Regions from separate parts of the Homo sapiens genome. Here region 1 is linked to region 2. The links are contacts of gene promoters, found by promoter capture Hi-C in human tissues and cell types (Jung and others, 2019). All regions are on one chromosome and are shown on one strand. The core of a region is centred on a gene start or on the middle of the fragment in contact, and the rest is flanking DNA. Distances in the headings are between cores, read along the strand shown. Region 1 overlaps OPA1 (OPA1 mitochondrial dynamin like GTPase). Region 2 holds the start of XXYLT1 (xyloside xylosyltransferase 1).

The links. Contacts are between HindIII fragments. The study calls those that stand out against the background at their distance.
Region 1: a fragment that was not itself captured here is called in contact with the fragment with the promoter of XXYLT1 in region 2 in 1 of the 25 tissues and cell types used here (dorsolateral prefrontal cortex).

What each region holds. Positions count from the first base shown.
Region 1 is chr3:193,667,618-193,674,312 of GRCh38, forward strand. All of the region lies in intron 29 of OPA1 (OPA1 mitochondrial dynamin like GTPase), which reads left to right. It overlaps LOC102724808 (a long non-coding RNA gene), which reads right to left. Exons shown (of 5, transcript XR_924835.3): 3 at 3,191-3,277; 4 at 1,303-1,427. Among named protein-coding and RNA genes, the nearest start is that of OPA1-AS1, 44 kb to the left of the region's middle. The HindIII fragment of the contact is 3,525 bases long and covers 651-4,175 here.
Region 2 is chr3:195,267,707-195,274,147 of GRCh38, forward strand. XXYLT1 (xyloside xylosyltransferase 1) reads right to left here and starts at 3,453. Exons shown (of 4, transcript NM_152531.5): 1 at 2,849-3,453. The coding sequence starts at 3,352. RefSeq lists an enhancer at 2,692-3,483 and silencers at 2,734-2,913, 3,074-3,603, 3,854-4,083. The HindIII fragment of the contact is 18,362 bases long and covers 1-6,441 here.

The DNA.
Region 1 (6,695 bases), core at 1,163-3,662, 1.6 Mb before region 2:
CCAAGATCCTGCCACTGCACTCCAGCCTGAGCGACAGGGCGAGATTCTGTCTCAAAAAAAAAAAAAAAAAAAAAGTTACAAGGAATTTTTTTCTTCTCTGAAGTATTTGAGAGTAAGTTGCTGACCTTAAGTCCTATCACTTCCAAGTAGGTTCATGTATAGTTCTTAGAAACAGATTTTCTCATAGCAACCGAACATTGATAAATTACAATATCTAATTCTCAGACCCCTTTCAAGTTTCACCCGTTGTCCCAGTATTATCCCTCCATATAACAAGATGTTCCAGGCTCAATACCTGACCCAGCTTCCTTTTTTTGAAGAATGGTGTTTAGAAATGGAGACCTAGAAATTATATATGCTGTTATTGGAATATCACTGTTCCCTGGTTTCTCAGTGGAAAGAGCTAGGAACTAAGTGTTGTGAATGTTTGTGTGTGTGCAGGTGAATATACACACACTGACATCTGTATTCCTAAATCATGTGTATATTTATTTATTAAAAACTGTGAGTTGATGCTGATACTTCCCATTTTAATCCAGCATTACAAGGTTTGTTCTAGTGTTCTCCCTTTCGATATTTGTCACTTGCTTTCCTGATAGAAAACGGGCTTCTAGTATCCTTAATATATTTTCATATTTTGGTCAGTCCTCCTATACGTAACCCAACTTGAATGAAGATATGTCCTTTTCCATTGCAGAAATGTTCTTTTTCCCCAGCTCGGACTCAACACTACACACCAGGCCACCACATGGCGCCGCACCCAGCATTGACACTTCTTTTACCTTGTCTGGGCTCTGACATCCGTGCCAGGTTGCTCTTCGTCATGGAGTCCCTTTTACTGAGCTCTGCTCTGACGCTTTGTGCCAGGTGCCTCTCCATCTCATCCTTCCCACCCGCTAGCCTCTGCCCGACCCCAGACAGATTCCTTCCTCACCTGAAGCCAGACCATGCCTTTGTGGAGATACCCTCTTTACCCTGCCTGTGCTTCGCCAGCCTGCACCAGGCCACCCTCCTGCACAGATACTCTCCTCAGTACTGGACCAGGCTACCAACAGCCCCATGTGAACCCATTGTAACCCAGGTCAGGCATTAACACCTGCAGTAGGCTACCATGGCTTCCCCTTCCCACCCCCCTAGCTTGGCCCTACTAATAATCACTTTGTCACTGTTTGGGGTTGATATTTGGTTGTTTCTTGTAGGTTCCTAGCTTTAAGATAGGATTGCATACTAAAATTTACTTAGATCTTTGAGAACTCAAGGAAATCAGTGAAACATTATTGTTATTAAATAAAAATAAAATACCTGTAGTTGGTACCTCTGTTTGAGCCTGCCTTGTTACAAGTTTCACTGACTTCAGCTTCGTGTAACAAAGTATCTTTTTCTTTCAACGTGTACTTAAATTTCCTGTCTTATTAGTTTTCTGATATCTAAAAGGAAAAAAAGCAGATATCGTTAATAAATTAGAAAGAAGTTCTGCAAATTTAAAAGTGCCTTCTAAGCTGAGTTGTAGGATTACAGTACAATCCATAGGGTTATCCTGAAGAAGCCAGGCAGGGCTCTTCTGTGTTACACCCTGTGCCTGCGCAGCATGCTCACCCCTTGCCATCAGCGCTTGCGGCCCCATTCTCTCCCTCTAGTAATAATCTAAGTTCTGCATTGCTTTCTCCTTTCCTTTTCTTTCTTCCTTTAAATATTCTTCTTTCGAGACATATCTCATTTTAACTTTTATTTTCATTTTCTGTCACTTTTGGTTTTTCTCATGCCACCTTGGCAATGTAGTTAAGTTTGTGCTAACGTAGAAGATTAGTGCTCAAATCTGAATTGCCATTTACTACTAGCTGTGTCATCTTCGGCAGGGAATCTCCCAGAGCCTTAGCTTCTTTATTTGTAAAATGACTATTATAGTGGTTATTTCTCAGGATTGTTAGAATTACTTCCGCAAACATTTGCAAGTCCCTGGTTCATAATTTCATGCTAAATTAGTACCGTTACAGGAAGTGGTATATCATTGTCACAGTGTATACAAATATATTTCTTTTATATCCCTCGTGATATAATTATCAAGACAGTGAAACAATTCAATGAATTTTACCAGCATAACACATTTTTAAGTGATTGGAAAATCATAAGTATCTTTTCTTATGTTTTTAGTAGAGGCTTTGCAACCCCATTACTCTCCGCTCCCAATTTGATTATTTAAAGGAAGTGGATTACTAACTCAGATATGTACACTGTCAAGCCAAGTTCTATGTTCTACTGCTGGTTTTCCTGAGAAAGCAGTCATATAACTCCCTTGAAATGATTTACTACTTTTGTACATATAAAATTATAATGGTGTTAATGTACCAAATAATGTCCTTGGAAGCAAGGGTTTTGCCAGTAACTCAGCTGCATCAGTCACCCTCAAGGAGATGAGCCATGACTTTGTTCATTAGTTGGAAAAGAGTCTGGAGAGTGCCTTTTCGTTACTGTTTATCTTTGGTCTGACACTTGGGAATAGGGTCATGGATACTTCAGCCAGAAAACTTTCCAAATTTAAGTTATTAATGTATTATAAGGATCAAAGTTTCTAGTATAGCCTGTTCAATTAGAACATAGTGTGTTGGTTGATTGGATTTGGAGAAAGGGAGGCAATCAAATTTTTACTACAGTTTCAGCCTGTTACAGAATATTGTATAGAGTGTTAAAATGTTGATGCATTCATATTTTTGCCAGTTTTAAGCTTGTACGATTTTAAATCATTTCCTTACCTTGGAGACTTCCCCCCCACCTTTTTTTTTTTTTTTGAGATGGAGTCTCGCTGTGTCGCCCAGGCTAGAGTGCAGTGGCACGATCTCGGCTCACTGCAAGGTGGTTCTCCCACCTCTGCCTCCCGAGTAGCTGGGGCTACAGGCGCCCGCCACCATGCCTGGCTTATTTTTTGTATTTTTAGTAGAGACGGGGTTTCCCCATGTTAGCCAGGATGGTCTCGATCTCCTGACCTCATGATCCGCCCGCCTCGGCCTCCCAAAGTGCTGGAATTATAGGCATGAGCCACCATGCCCAGCCCTGACTGCCCTTTAAGATGAGTACATAAGTAGTAGTAGTACATTTTTCTTTCACATCCTGGAGAAGATATACTGTGTTCACTATTGAAATGAAACCATAAAGCTAGAGTTAGGAAGATTGAAGAAATGAAAAAGGAGCTCACATGATTTTGTCTCAGGAGAGGCTCTTCCAGGATTCTTTGGAGATATGGTAGATTCCATAGCTGGAGCAGGGAAAGGACAGGATGAGCCTGTGGGTGTAGAAAGGAAGGGAGTGCTTGAAAGATGATGAGGAGATGTCAGCAGGTCACAGAAACCCTCTGAAGGAGGCTCCAACTGGCCAGGCTGGGGACAATTTGGGCCCCAAAATAATGACAGTAACAAATTGTAACTCATTGAATGAAATAGGAATCCATACATTGGTAATTATATAAATAAGGGAATAAAACCATGATGCAAAAAGGGATGTTTATGTCATCACGCAAAATATGTTCACAGAAAATATGTACTAATTAAAAGAGGGAAAAGAGTAACTTTACAGTGGATGAAGCCTGGCAATCATCACTTTAAGCAAGTGGTCAGAGTTAATATTATCAGTAATGGTCAAATCAAAACCATATGCAAGAAGACTCTAAAATGCAAGAAGACTCCTGAAGTACTTCTTACCAAAGATGTAGAACTTAAATTCAGTCATAACAATACATGAGACAAACCCAAGTTAGAGCACAGTCTGCAAAATAACTGGCCTGTAATCTTCAAATGCATCAAGATCATGAAAGACAAGGAAAGAGTGAAGAGCTGCTCCAGTTGGAAGAGACTTAAAACTAAATGCAATGTATGATCCTAGATTGGATCTTTTTGCTCTAAGGACATTAATGGGCCAGTTAGTGATATTTGAAGGGGATCCGAGGGTTCCATTGTAGTAATATATCAGTGTTAATTTTTAAATTTTTATTAGGTTGGGATTATTTTGGAAAATACCATTATTCATAGCGAATACAAAGTAGAATATTTGGGGATGATAATGCATGATTACAACAAATGTTTCAGGAGAAATATGATCTTTGTAGTGGTCTTGCAACTTTTCTGTAAGTCTGAAATTGTTTATGCATAAAAGGTTAAAAAAAGGTTAAATTTTGTTTTTATAACTAATAATGGATTAGGGTCATGTGAAAGTACTTTAGAGGAAATGAGACTTTTGAGAACATCATCCCTGAAGACGTTGAAACACTGAGTTACCTCATGGATAATTTAATAGGATATGCAGCTGATTTTTCTACCTTAATTTCTTGTTTGCAGTATCTACCCATACTTAGAATTGTCTGGTGTTAAAATATGCCCACTGGGACTTTCATGAAATTCTTTTGATTTTCTAGAAAATTCAGTTTCAAAGGATTTTTTAAATAGATATTTTAAGTTTGGTGTCAACTTAGATAAAATCTGTTTGGAGTCCCAGTGTAAGTTTTAGTAATGTGTCCAATCTGTTTATTGAAATAGTATAACTTTAGAATACTTTCTTTGGAGAGATGAAGATTGGTATGTTATAGTTCAATTCAAAGTTGTTCTTTCTATTATGATCTATTTTATAATTCATAAAATCTATCTTATGATTGTCATCATAAGTGCAATTTGTTTTTTGCCCCATTCTACCTCAGAAACTAAGTATCTGGGCATCAATAACAATTGGTAGTAGTGTTTGCTGCTAAGCCAAGTTTCACCAGTACAGTGTGGAATTATTTTATTGTTTTTTCTGTGAACATTGTATCTGCTGTTACTAGGTTATTGTGAGGTATTGGGCCTTCATAGAAATTGCCTGGAACCCTTGTTCACTAAAGCCTGTTACACTTTTTATTCTCTGTGCGTGTAATCAGAGACTTATTGATACTGACACATTCAAGGGGCATTATTGATCATTTAGATTGCTCTAAGACCTAAGGAGTCTTGGCCGGATGCGGTGCCTCACGCCTGTAATCCCAGCACTATGGGAGGCCGAGGCGGGTGGATCACCTGAGGTCAGGAGTTCGAGATCAGCCTGGCCAACATGGTGAAACCCCGTCTCTACTAAAAATGCGAAAATTAGCTGGGCATGGTGGCAGGCGCCTGTAATTCCAGCTACTCGGGAGGCTGAGACAGGAGAATCGCCTGAACCCGGGAGGCAGAGGTTGCAGTGAGCCAAGACTGTGCCATTGCATTCCAGCCTGGGTAACAGAGCGAGACTCCATCTCAAAAAAAAAAAAAAAACGAAAAACAAAAACCTAAGGAGTCTTTTCTCCTTATTTTACAATAAATTCCTTTTGATTTTGTGTAAAAACTTGAAACTGTTTATGAATGTAAAATAACATTTGAATACTTTTCTTGTGCCAGATATTAGGTTAAATGCTTTATGTGAATTTTCATTTGATTCTCACAACTTTTGAGTTAGGTAGTTATTTTTCTCATTTTACAGATGAAATGGAGGGTTAGGAACTCGTAGGTAGTAGATGCTGAAGCTGAGATTTGGGCCTGGGTCTTTTCACTACTGTGCCAGAATCATTTGGGAGGGAGTAAAAACTCAAGCCTTTGGAAAATATGATGACATAAAATTGTCCTTTATATTGAGAAGCTTCCATAGTTACCAGTGTCCTTCACAGGGTTGATCGGAAAGACATACATGTTAGTGATGATGATAATGATGAAGATAATCATTATTACCACAGGTACTTCCTATAATATAAGCATCTTTCAAATTGTATGAGAACTTTCATAGAACATCTGAGTAAATGAACAGTACAGTGTGCATGAAACCACTAAGCAAACCAAGGGAAGTTAATTTTCTTTATATGAATTGTAAACATGTCTCTAGATATCCTTTATCAGATTCCACCATGCGTAAGTAGTGTCTAAGTTGCCCCATATTTAGAGTTTTTCAATGAGGTTGTGTTCCTACTTAGAATCCTAAAGTTCAGCTATAACAGATATATTAATAAAATCTGTGGAATCTTTAATTGAGCATAATGGTGGCTGTTATTTTAACTTGAGGCTTTTTGTTGAGCTGGATTGGAAGTGCAACTTATTAGAAATTACAGTGTATTTATTCCTATTTCTTGTTCTTTATGTGAGAGAAGATATACTTTAGTAGACTGAATACTTCAGAGCTGTATCTCATTTACCAATAAAATGTGAAAACAGTGGTAAATTCCTTCACTTGGGCTACCATTGTACAGGCCTATTTTAATGGTATAGTTTGATATCCTTAATGTTAAAAGCAATATAGCTTAAAGAGGCTGGTAAATTAGAATTTTCCAATATCCTCAGCTTTTTTTCCTCTCACAGTTAATTTGCTCTGCTGACTCCCTACGCGAGGTGGCAACAGCTGGCCCTTTTACTGGAGCTTGTGGGGATTAGAGAGTCGGGCTCGCAGCAGCGTGCTCGGCCTCTTGCCTCTGTTGACTGTTCTTTATTGTTTGATGCCTGAGCATCTCCCAGACAGCGAGCAATTGTTTCTGGAAACTTAAAGTTTGTTTCTCTTGGGAGTAGACAATGCTTTTGGGGCTTGTCTTTGTGTTTCTTCACTTTCCCAGTCTCCTCTTATCCTTCATCCTGTGCTTTCTCTTGATAATTAGAAAGGAGCAAAGATACCACCTTTTTATTTAGGTCTGCATGAGATTCTAAAACTTAGAAGTATAGGCT
Region 2 (6,441 bases), core at 2,203-4,702:
AGGAACAGTGCTTGGAGTTTGAAAGTGTGTAATGGGGGCTCAGGAAAGGTTTACCAAGGAAAGAACACCAAAGCCGAGACCTGAAAGCTGAGTACCAAGGATGGAGGCAGGGAGAACTCCAGACAGAGGAAAGGCATGTGACATATGTTCTTTTCAGGAATATTCCAAACCTGAGGAAGAATTAAATCACAAGTAAAATGAAGCAAACCTTTTAGAATCGCACATTTAAAGGAAAAAAAGAGCACTTTTCATCACAAACAGAAAAATTTACAAAATATGAACTCAAAAATCATGGGAATGCCAGGTGCAGTGGTGTGTGCCTGTAATCCCAGCTATGCAGGAGGCTAAGGCAAGAGAATTGCTTGAGCTCAGGAGTTCAAGACCAGCCTGGGCAACATAGCAAGAATTCTTATCAAAAACAAAACAAAACAAAGTAACGGAGGCCAGGCGCGGTGGTTCACGCCTGTAATTCCAGCACTTTGAGAGGCCAAGGTGGGTGGATCACCTGAGGTCAGGAATTTGAGACCAGCCTGGCCAACATGATGAAACCCCATCTCTACTAAAAATACAAAAAATTAGCCGGGCGTGGTGGCGGGCGCCTGTAATCCCAGCTACTCAGGAGGCTGGGCCAGGAGAATCACTTGAACCTTGGAGGCAGAGGTTGCAGTGAGCCGAGATCACACTGTTGCACTCCAGCCTGGGCGACAAGAGCAAAACTCTGTCTCAAAAAAAAAAAAACAAAAAATTTAGCCAGCGTGGTGGTGGGCACCTGTAATTCCAGCTACTCGAGAGGCTGAGGCAGAATCGCTCGAACCCAGGAGGCAGAGGTTGCAGTGAGCTGAGATCGTGCCACTGCACTCCAGCCTAGGCAACAAGAGCGAAACTCCATCTCACAAAAAAAAAAAAGAAGTAACGGGAGCAATTTTATGCCAGGACTGATAACCCCTTATCCAATCACTGACATCTGGCTAGAAGTCCCCAGACACTAAACCCTCACCCCTCAACAGAGGAGGTATCAGTTCCCTCTGGTCATTTGCAGCTGCCTCCAGGCCTTGAGTGAGGCTGCCAGAACTGGGCCCAGTAAAGTGGGGTAGTCCGAGCATGAAACACTTACTCCAAGACAGGAGGGGCTCGGCCCTGAGGCTGGATCTACCCCTGGGCCAATATTTCTGGTGCCAACTAAGAGTGCCAGGCATTGTACATAGGGATGGATGATAAGACATGATACAGTCACAGCACCAGGGAAGTAGAAAAGGAAAGAAGGGACGCTTCCTTGGCTCCAAGGAGGGGATGGTATCTGAAGATGGGCAAGACTTGGAGATGGAGAGAAGGAGCACCCCAACAGTGGGAATGACAAAAGCAAAGGCAAGTAGGCTGGAAAGCACTGGCTGTGCAGCTAGCGCTGCAGCGGGAGCTGGGGACAAGGGGACAGAGATCCGGCAACGGTGCAGAGTAGGCCCAGAAGAGATGACAATGCTATCTTCAAGGCGGTGTTTGGAGACCTGGTCAAATCCCAAGATCTGCCCAGACTGACCCTATGGCCAAGGGCCCTCAGTTTTCTACCGTGAACTAGTGCAAAGTTTCTCAAATATTAGGGTCATTAGGATCACCTGGGACAGGTTGCCAGGCTCCTCCTCCAGCGAGGACCTTCAGAGGTCCCAGGGTCTAGGGACTTTCTCAGGAGAGGTGAAAGCTGAGTAAAGAATGGCCAAGGGCCCAAGAGGACACTGTGGGCAGACAGTACAGCATGTATAAGGCCCACTCCCTACATAGCTAAGGTATGAGGTGCATGTAGACAAAGGAGGAGAGGTGAAGCCAGAGAAGTGGACCAGGCTCACAACACAACAGCCCTACCAATAAACTGGGACTTCACCCCGTAGGCAACAAGGAGCTATCAGAGACTCCCGAAGCCTGTAGGATCCTGGCAACAGCTCCCCTAGTCACTCACATAATACAACTCCTGTCTCAGCATGCTTCCCCAACCAACATCAGTCTCCACCCTTTAATATTACCTACTACTCCTTAAAATCTGGCCTCGGATCCCCTCTGTACAACTATTAGGTCAAAATCAAATAAGCAATTTGACCTAGGCAATTCACACTATGTCAGAAACACATCTCAGACAAGGAGAGCCAGGCAGTGAAGACAGATGATAAACAGAGATGGAAGCTGTCATGGAGGCAGACTGGTCCAGCCTGGGACAAGGCGGCCAGCTGTGCTCTCCCCAGATCATATCTGTTCCTCTTGAGCTTTCTCTTCCTCATTCGGAGGAACTCCAGGCTTCTCTAAATGGGTTCATGACCCTTGGAGGAAGGGGAAAAAGGGACACAGAGAGGAGATAAGATGGTTCACAATGAGTTTGACCAGATCCTACTGAAATACCTTAAGAGCAATGAGAAGTGTCACTGCAACTTCAACACTTCCAGAGGCCTCACCAAGGCCCTCTCCAGTTGCTCAGGATGACTACTGGTGACCAGTCCCATCCTCAGAAGTCAAAAACTGAGGAACATAAACAGAGGTGCAGACTCTGAAGGCAGTGCTGAACCCTGCAACGTTAGCAAAATGGGGGCGCGCGGACTCTCCTGGGGGCTGCGCTTAACTGGGGGAGAGGAAAACGAGGCGGTCATTAAAAACGCAGCTCCACTCCTCAGCACCAGCTGAGGGCGTCTGGCTCCCGGACACGCCCCCGAACGAGCCCTCCCGCAGGTTGTGAACACTACATTGCAAGCGGGCAGCTCAGGGAAGATCCTACCCGCTAGTTCCCCGGATCCCCTCCGGGAGCGCAAACTGACCTCGCCTAGGATGGGGTGGGCCACCCACCGGGAGCCCCCAGCCGCGGCCCGCTCACCTTGCACTTGAAGCCAGCGGCGGGCGGCAGGAGCTCCCGCAGCAGGCCCTTGGCCACCTCGCGGCTGGCCTCCTCGCTCACGAAGTGAAGGTTAAGCACCTCGTGCGCCTCGAACTTGGCGAGGCGCAGCAGTGAGCGCAGCGCGACGCGGGCCTTGGCCTGCAGCGCGGCATTGTGCTCCGCCTTGGTGAACATCATCAGCAGGTGGTAGTCCACCGGCCCGGCACCGCCGCCCTCCAAGCTCTTGGCCTTCGCGCCGGGGGCTGGCGCCACGGAGCCCCGCGCTAGCTCCAGCGCGGGCGGCGAGGGCGCGGCGGGAGCCCCGGCGCGGGCCTCCTTCAGCCTCTTGGTGGCGCTGGAGAAGGTCTCCCGGCCTGAGCCGAGGTAGTAGAAGGCGCAGACGGCCAGCGCCGCGGCCAGCAGCAGGGCGCAGTAGTGGGAGCGCACAGCGCCCAGGCGCGCCATGGCCCGAGCGCATGGGAGCCCGCCTCGGAGGAGGCCCATGCGCTACGAGACCGCGGCGCCAGCGGTGCCAGCAACGCGGGAGAGCCCTCGGGTACCCGGACGCCGGCGGCCACTTAGCCCCGGCGCCAGGCGGCGGCCATGAAAGGGGCGGGGCCGCGCCGCCTGGAGCCAATCGCGGGCGCCGGTGCGCGGAGGGGCGGGGCCGGGCGTGCCGAAACCGCTGGGTCCTAGGTTCCAAGGGTATTAGAGGAGGGGTTAGGGTGGGATCCGGCGCCCGGCGTTGGGAGGGGGGGATTCCGGACTCCAGCGTGCTGAGGGCTGGCCCGCTGTCCCGGCTGAGAAATGGCGCCCTACGCGGCGAGCCCCAGAGGATATCCAAGCTGAGTGTTGAAGGGAATGGAGGCGCCCGAACAGAGGAACTTAGGTTAGCCAAAAGCGAAGCTGGAGGCACCAAGAGGTAAAACTTTAATCTCTGCACCTTTTTTCCCTCAATTTCTTGGAGGCTTTAAGCCGTCTCGGCCTCTCCCTGCACACGAGCTGCAGCTAGGCAATTTAAACCGGCAGCTCCTCCCTTTTCCCCCGCCCTGGGAGGAAATGGCCCGGGCCGCACGTCGCGCCGGAGGCCGAGCGGAGGGAGGCTGGAGGATGTGGCCAGCAGGGGGCCCCCGCCGCCCGCACGAACCTGCGAGGCTGCTCCCCGAGCCCCAGCACCGCAAAGCCCTGGAGGGCGACATTCATCCACTTTTGTTTTATAAACAGACTTTTAACACTTTATCAAGAGCCTCCTTGAGGGTACCAGGGAGTTTTGCACGCCGAGGTCACGTGCCCAAAGTCACACAGCTAGCCAGTAGCAATTTTGACCCTAGGCAGTTGCACACTGCTAACTAGATAAAAACGTACTAACTTCAGTCTTCTAAGAATTGAGGCTATACCAGTAGTTTTTAAGTAAACACGTGCAAGTGCTGTGCATGCTGTCTAAATAGACAAAGAACTTGAGTAAGTACAGTAACCCTTCAGTTCTTTGGCCAAGTTCTCTGATTTCTGACCAGAGATTAGGTAAACGGTTTTTCCTGTTATTTCCACATTGTAAGGTTGCATGGATTATCCAACCTCTCTGCTTCAGACCTTGGCTTACATGTCACTACCTACACAAATGATCTCTAAATACCTCCTATCCAGTGTCTGGGCTAAGTGCCATCCTCAATAATTCTGTGAGGGCCACCTAAATATATGTACTACCCTAGTCTCATCTTTCTTCATTGCAAGAACACGTGACTCCAAGAGAACAGAATATACATTTGTTTTTTATTAACCACAATATACCCAGTACCTAACACGGTGCCTACCACATTGGATGAGTCTCAAAAATATACTCAACCATTGAAACAGCATTTTTATTTCTAGAAAATCTTCCTAATAATTTAAGAATGTTCAAAATATTTAACCATAAGAATAAAGCAAGGCCAAGCATGGTGGCTTAGGCCGGGAATGGTGGCTCACGCCTGTAATCCTAGCACTTTGGGAGGCCGAGGAGGGCAGATCACCTTAGGCCAGGAGTTCGAGACCAGCCTGCCCAACATGGCGAAACCCCGTCTCTACTAAAAATACAAAAAATTAGCCAGACATGGTGGCGGGCGCCTGTAATCCCAGCTACTCAGGAGGCTGAGGCAGAAGAATCGCTTGAACCTGGGAGGTGGAGGTTGCAGTGAGCCGAGATCATAACACTGCACTCCAGCCTGGGCGACAAGAGCAAAACTCTGTCTCAAAAAAAAAAAAAAAGTAGGCAGTGTGGTGGCGGACACCTGCAATTCCAGCTACTCGAGAGGCTGAGGCAAGAGAATCGCTTGAACCTAGGAGGCAGAGGATGCAGTGAGCCGAGATCATAACACTGCACTCCAGCCTGGGCGACAAGAGCAAAACCCTGTCTCAAAAAAAAAAAAAAAGTAGGCAGTGTGGTGGCGGACACCTGCAATTCCAGCTACTCGAGAGGCTGAGGCAAGAGAATCGCTTGAACCTAGGAGGCAGAGGATGCAGTGAGCCGAGATTGTGCCTCTGTACTCTAGCCTGGCGAAAGAGAGCGAGACCCTGTCTCAAAAAACAAACATAAAAATAAAGCAAAGCTAGGTTCATGATGGCAAAAAATCAGAATCAAATGGTCATCAATAAAGTGGTTAAAGCTAAAATAATGCAGTCATTAAAAGTGATGTTTTCAACAAACTGCAGGTGGAAATTTAAAAAACTAACAAATGGGTGAGGTGGCTCATACCCGTACTCCAAGCTATGTGGGAGACTGAGGTGGGAGGATCACTTGAGCTCAGGGGTCCAAGGCTGCAGTGAGCTACGATCGCCACAGGACTCCAGCCTGGATGACAGTGCGAGACCCCAATTCCAAAAAAAAAATAGTAATGGTAACAAATGGAAAAAAAAACCTACAGAGACTAAGAAACATATTCACCAACTGCAACGTATGGAACTTATGTGAATTCTGATTTGCACGATCTATTTTAAAAATCGTATTTGAGAAACCAATTTGAATATTGATTATGTAGTTTTACAGTTTAAGAAGTGTTACGATTTTTTAAAGTCCTCAACTTTTAGATGTACATACGGAATGATTTGCTGGTGAAAGGTCTAGGATCTGGTTCCAAAAAGTCCAGGAAAGGGGAAAAATGGGTAGGAGAACAAATATAAGCCATGAGCTTATAGCTATTGATTTTCTCTACCTGTACATGCTTGAAATTTCCCATAAAGTTCTCCCCATCTATTAAGTGAAAGAAGTGGGTAACTGTATGATCCCATTATATAAATGTATGAATACACACACCCAAAGGTCTAGAAGGGTATACACAAAAAAGTAACAGTATCTCCCTCAGTGCTATCCAGTAGAACTTCCTGTGACAATGTATATATTCTACAATCTCCCCTGTTCAAAACAATAGTCACTAGCCACATGGGGCTATAAAGTTCTTAAAATGTAGCAGTACGACTGAGGAAATGAACTCTTTGTCTAATTCCAATTAAGTAGCCACATGTAGCTAGTGAGTTCCATTTTGGACAGCACAAGATAATGGAATTGTGGATGATTCTCTTGCTTCTTCTTAACATTTCTCCACAAGCAAAAAGCTTTG